2 separate regions of the Homo sapiens genome follow, and region 2 is linked to region 1. The links are contacts of gene promoters, found by promoter capture Hi-C in blood cells and fetal thymus (Javierre and others, 2016). All regions are on one chromosome and are shown on one strand. The core of a region is centred on a gene start or on the middle of the fragment in contact, and the rest is flanking DNA. Distances in the headings are between cores, read along the strand shown.

Evidence for each region. Contacts are between HindIII fragments. The CHiCAGO score rates a contact against its expected background, and 5 or more counts as called.
Region 2: a contact is called between a fragment that was not itself captured here and the fragment with the promoter of DUSP22 in region 1, in 8 of 17 cell types (total B cells, M2 macrophages, naive B cells and 5 more). The highest score is 13.0, in total B cells.

Annotation. Positions count from the first base shown.
Region 1 is chr6:291,237-294,277 of GRCh38, forward strand. It overlaps DUSP22 (dual specificity phosphatase 22), which reads left to right and starts at 1,251. Exons shown (of 7, transcript NM_001286555.3): 1 at 1,251-1,324. The coding sequence starts at 1,304. RefSeq lists enhancers at 214-503, 430-930, 931-1,431, 1,724-1,983 and silencers at 614-1,633, 2,378-2,534, 2,414-2,473, 2,484-2,543. The HindIII fragment of the contact is 6,707 bases long and covers 1-3,041 here.
Region 2 is chr6:408,642-411,520 of GRCh38, forward strand. IRF4 (interferon regulatory factor 4) reads left to right here. Exons shown (of 9, transcript NM_002460.4): 9 at 1-2,802. Among named protein-coding and RNA genes, the nearest start is that of IRF4, 18 kb to the left of the region's middle. RefSeq lists enhancers at 1,487-1,576, 1,997-2,146. The HindIII fragment of the contact is 2,051 bases long and covers 558-2,608 here.

The DNA.
Region 1 (3,041 bases), core at 1-2,500:
GGCAGGTATGCAGAGAGCTGGGGATCCAGGTGTCTGGATAGAGAGCACAGCCCAGCAAGCCTGACAGGCTCAAGGAACAGACAGGAGACCAGCATGTGTGTAACTCGCTTAGCAAGAAGATAAAATGAAGTCAGCAGGGGTGAGCCAGGGCACGTCAGATTGACGCATGTACTCATTCAGCAAATATTTATTAAGCACCTACTATGTTCAGGACATTGTTGAGGATACATAAATTAAGAAGAAAAACCACTGGCTCAAGGATTCTGTCGCTGGAGAGAAACTTCAGAGTTTAATAACGTTGATAGAACACCCAAAACAATTCTGCTACAGTTTAGAAATTGATCCATTCCAGACAGAACCACAATGCAGACATTAAGGGACACACATCATCTAAGGCCGTGAGGTCTGAGGTCAGAGATCCAGCCATCTGCTCCCCCAGGGTAGGGAGGTCGGGCCTCCCCGGGGTGAGTCACGTAGCCCACCTCTCCCCACCAGGCGAGGCTTCTCGGTCTTGGTGCATGGGGCAGGGCCGCAGGAAATCCCCCAGCCTAAATCTGCCGCACTCAGAAAACCCAGGCAGGGGAGCCCCCAGAGACCAGGCCTCTGATTAGCACCTGATTCACGGAGGCAGCCAAGGCTGGGTAGCGACTGCTGGTAACTGGCCCCCGGAGTCGCCCCAGGGGAAAAGGCCAAAGGGGGATCTGGAGACCCCCGGCCGGGGAGCGGGCTCCGAGACGAGCGCAGCCGCCCGGTCAGGGCAGCGCCTGCGCGTCCGCCAGGCCCCGCCGCGCAGCCTCGGGTGTCCCGGCGGGGCGGCTCGGGCCGCGCACGCGCTCTGGCCTCCGGGGCCGGCCGCCTGGGAGCCCGAGCCTAGTGCCTCCCACGCCCGGCGGCCGCGAGCCGGGGTCCGCGAGGGCGGAGTGGGGCGCGGCAGCCAGGAACCCGACTACGAATCCCAGGGTGCGGGCGGGCGGAGCGAGGAGGGACGCTGGGCCTGCCCGGTGCGCACGGGGGCGGGGACCGGCAAGGCGGGACCATTTCCCGGCATAGGCTCCGGTGCCCCTGCCCGGCTCCCGCCGGGAAGTTCTAGGCCGCCGCACAGAAAGCCCTGCCCTCCACGCCGGGTCTCTGGAGCGCCCTGGGTTGCCCGGCCGGTCCCTGCCGCTGACTTGTTGACACTGCGAGCACTCAGTCCCTCCCGCGCGCCTCCTCCCCGCCCGCCCCGCCGCTCCTCCTCCCTGTAACATGCCATAGTGCGCCTGCGACCACACGGCCGGGGCGCTAGCGTTCGCCTTCAGCCACCATGGGGAATGGGATGAACAAGGTAACGTCTTCCCTCGTTCGCGCTGGGTTTGCCTCCGCTCCGACGCCCTGCCGTCTCGCCGGCGTCGGCTGCCCGACGACTCGAGCCCGGGGTGCCCTTTCCCGCGGTGGGGACGGGCGCGGAGGGAGGGGCGGCGCGCCTGGGCGGCGACCGCGGAGTCGGGGTTCGGAGGTGTTCCCGCCCCCACCCCACCCGGCTTCCGGGTAGGCAGCCCCCAGCCGCCTGCCTTGCCAGCCGGTGCGTTTTCGTGGCTGAAACAAGCCGCGCCCTTTGAAAGCGTTGACACTTGTTCTGCCGAGAGGTCAGCTGAGCTCCGAATGGATGTGGCTTCTTTTTTGCCCTCCTCTTCGCTCCCAAACTACGCTCTTGAAGCCACCACCGCCCCCCCCACATCATTAGTAAACGGGTGTCCTCTGTAATTTCCTCTTTCTCCTCAGATTCTGTGTGTGTGCCTGTGAGCACAGAGAAGTTTTTCTTGTGGACAGAGAAGTTAACAGAGTCCTAAGTCCTGAGCTGTTTCTAGATAGTGGGGAGGAGAGAAAAGATTCAGAGTTGATTAGGTTATGTGACTTCTGCAACAAGGGCAACCTGTTGCTGGCTGCTTGCGCTGATGAGGCCTTCTGGAAAATCTGTGTTGCTCCATTTGTCCCGTCCGTTTCTGGGCCCCACCCTGTGTTCTTTTGTTGCCCGCACCTCACTTCCCGGGCGGTGGGCTAGCCTTTCCCGTCCAGGGAAGTTGCCAGATTCCAGCTCTGGCAGCTGAGAGTTGCCGGGGTGTATTCATGTGAACCACAGGGTTAAGGATTTTGTTACTTGGTACTTGGCTGGTTTCGAGGAAGGATTGACAAGACTTTACAAAGCCCGCAACAAAGACAAGTACCTTTTTACGGGTCTTTGAATGGTCCTGGATTAGATGAGTCGTCTTTCTGCTTCACTTTTTCATTGCGCTCCACCCACCCACATCTCTACATGCCGTCAGCTTCCACACTGGGTGGGGATGGCAATGTGGCTGTGTTTTTTTTCATGTCCCTCAGCACTGGGTCAGCAGTGGTTTGGGTGTTGGGGCTGGAGTGTTGCAAATGCGGATTCACGGTAGGGCAGGGAAAACCTAGCTAACTTTTCACGTGCGCATGTCGTGTTTATTGTGTCCTGGTTACCCAGTTTGTGAAAGAACTATTGTGTGTTTGGGACCTGCATATCAATACTGGGGTATTTTGGTAAAGAGAATTGTATTCACTTTTTTTTTTTTTTTTTTTTTGGCGAGTGATCAAGTTTGGAAACAGACTGTCTCTCTCTTGGATAAATACTTGTATTATATTCCGATGAGCACTGGAATCCATCAGCACCACGAGCCTTCTGCTTTTTAAATTAAAACAGAACAATAAAGATGGTCATCATAAGTCTGTGGGCTCCGTTTGCCTTCCCATTGGTGGTGGTATCTCAGCTTTCCTTTGGCTGTTTCTAGTTTTCCCACTTGAGCTGTTCACTCTCCACCGTTTTCAGCATTTAATTTATAGTATTTGTGTAATACAATTCAAAAAATATATTTAGGAATACAGATGGTTGCCTAAGGGATCAACGTTATTTTCATGCTTTTCAACAAAAGCAGTAATATTCATATACTTTTTACCTTTCAAAATGGGTAATAAATTTCTTGACTTTTATTATCTTGTGAATAGAGACTCACAGTGTATCAATGAAGAAATACATGTATAGA
Region 2 (2,879 bases), core at 333-2,832, 120 kb after region 1:
TGCCCTTCTGTCCAAGTACTTAACTATCTGTTCCCTTCCTCTGTGCCACGCTCCTCTGTTTGTTTGGCTGTCCAGCGATCAGCCATGGCGACACTAAAGGAGGAGGAGCCGGGGACTCCCAGGCTGGAGAGCACTGCCAGGACCCACCACTGGAAGCAGGATGGAGCTGACTACGGAACTGCACACTCAGTGGGCTGTTTCTGCTTATTTCATCTGTTCTATGCTTCCTCGTGCCAATTATAGTTTGACAGGGCCTTAAAATTACTTGGCTTTTTCCAAATGCTTCTATTTATAGAATCCCAAAGACCTCCACTTGCTTAAGTATACCTATCACTTACATTTTTGTGGTTTTGAGAAAGTACAGCAGTAGACTGGGGCGTCACCTCCAGGCCGTTTCTCATACTACAGGATATTTACTATTACTCCCAGGATCAGCAGAAGATTGCGTAGCTCTCAAATGTGTGTTCCTGCTTTTCTAATGGATATTTTAAATTCATTCAACAAGCACCTAGTAAGTGCCTGCTGTATCCCTACATTACACAGTTCAGCCTTTATCAAGCTTAGTGAGCAGTGAGCACTGAAACATTATTTTTTAATGTTTAAAAAGTTTCTAATATTAAAGTCAGAATATTAATACAATTAATATTAATATTAACTACAGAAAAGACAAACAGTAGAGAACAGCAAAAAAATAAAAAGGATCTCCTTTTTTCCCAGCCCAAATTCTCCTCTCTAAAAGTGTCCACAAGAAGGGGTGTTTATTCTTCCAACACATTTCACTTTTCTGTAAATATACATAAACTTAAAAAGAAAACCTCATGGAGTCATCTTGCACACACTTTCATGCAGTGCTCTTTGTAGCTAACAGTGAAGATTTACCTCGTTCTGCTCAGAGGCCTTGCTGTGGAGCTCCACTGCCATGTACCCAGTAGGGTTTGACATTTCATTAGCCATGCAACATGGATATGTATTGGGCAGCAGACTGTGTTTCGTGAACTGCAGTGATGTATACATCTTATAGATGCAAAGTATTTTGGGGTATATTATCCTAAGGGAAGATAAAGATGATATTAAGAACTGCTGTTTCACGGGGCCCTTACCTGTGACCCTCTTTGCTGAAGAATATTTAACCCCACACAGCACTTCAAAGAAGCTGTCTTGGAAGTCTGTCTCAGGAGCACCCTGTCTTCTTAATTCTCCAAGCGGATGCTCCATTTCAATTGCTTTGTGACTTCTTCTTCTTTGTTTTTTTAAATATTATGCTGCTTTAACAGTGGAGCTGAATTTTCTGGAAAATGCTTCTTGGCTGGGGCCACTACCTCCTTTCCTATCTTTACATCTATGTGTATGTTGACTTTTTAAAATTCTGAGTGATCCAGGGTATGACCTAGGGAATGAACTAGCTATGAAATACTCAGGGTTAGGAATCCTAGCACTTGTCTCAGGACTCTGAAAAGGAACGGCTTCCTCATTCCTTGTCTTGATAAAGTGGAATTGGCAAACTAGAATTTAGTTTGTACTCAGTGGACAGTGCTGTTGAAGATTTGAGGACTTGTTAAAGAGCACTGGGTCATATGGAAAAAATGTATGTGTCTCCCAGGTGCATTTCTTGGTTTATGTCTTGTTCTTGAGATTTTGTATATTTAGGAAAACCTCAAGCAGTAATTAATATCTCCTGGAACACTATAGAGAACCAAGTGACCGACTCATTTACAACTGAAACCTAGGAAGCCCCTGAGTCCTGAGCGAAAACAGGAGAGTTAGTCGCCCTACAGAAAACCCAGCTAGACTATTGGGTATGAACTAAAAAGAGACTGTGCCATGGTGAGAAAAATGTAAAATCCTACAGTGAAATGAGCAGCCCTTACAGTATTGTTACCACCAAGGGCAGGTAGGTATTAGTGTTTGAAAAAGCTGGTCTTTGAGCGAGGGCATAAATACAGCTAGCCCCAGGGGTGGAACAACTCTGGGAGTCTTGGGTACTCGCACCTCTTGGCTTTGTTGATGCTCCGCCAGGAAGGCCACTTGTGTGTGCGTGTCAGTTACTTTTTTAGTAACAATTCAGATCCAGTGTAAACTTCCGTTCATTGCTCTCCAGTCACATGCCCCCACTTCCCCACAGGTGAAAGTTTTTCTGAAAGTGTTGGGATTGGTTAAGGTCTTTATTTGTATTACGTATCTCCCCAAGTCCTCTGTGGCCAGCTGCATCTGTCTGAATGGTGCGTGAAGGCTCTCAGACCTTACACACCATTTTGTAAGTTATGTTTTACATGCCCCGTTTTTGAGACTGATCTCGATGCAGGTGGATCTCCTTGAGATCCTGATAGCCTGTTACAGGAATGAAGTAAAGGTCAGTTTTTTTTTGTATTGATTTTCACAGCTTTGAGGAACATGCATAAGAAATGTAGCTGAAGTAGAGGGGACGTGAGAGAAGGGCCAGGCCGGCAGGCCAACCCTCCTCCAATGGAAATTCCCGTGTTGCTTCAAACTGAGACAGATGGGACTTAACAGGCAATGGGGTCCACTTCCCCCTCTTCAGCATCCCCCGTACCCCACTTTCTGCTGAAAGAACTGCCAGCAGGTAGGACCCCAGAGGCCCCCAAATGAAAGCTTGAATTTCCCCTACTGGCTCTGCGTTTTGCTGAGATCTGTAGGAAAGGATGCTTCACAAACTGAGGTAGATAATGCTATGCTGTCGTTGGTATACATCATGAATTTTTATGTAAATTGCTCTGCAAAGCAAATTGATATGTTTGATAAATTTATGTTTTTAGGTAAATAAAAACTTTTAAAAATTTGTTATGGAATGTGTGTGTGTGTTATTAAACATGCATCCTGATAGCTTTTAAAGCACTTTCTCCTGCGGTTACGTTCCTTCA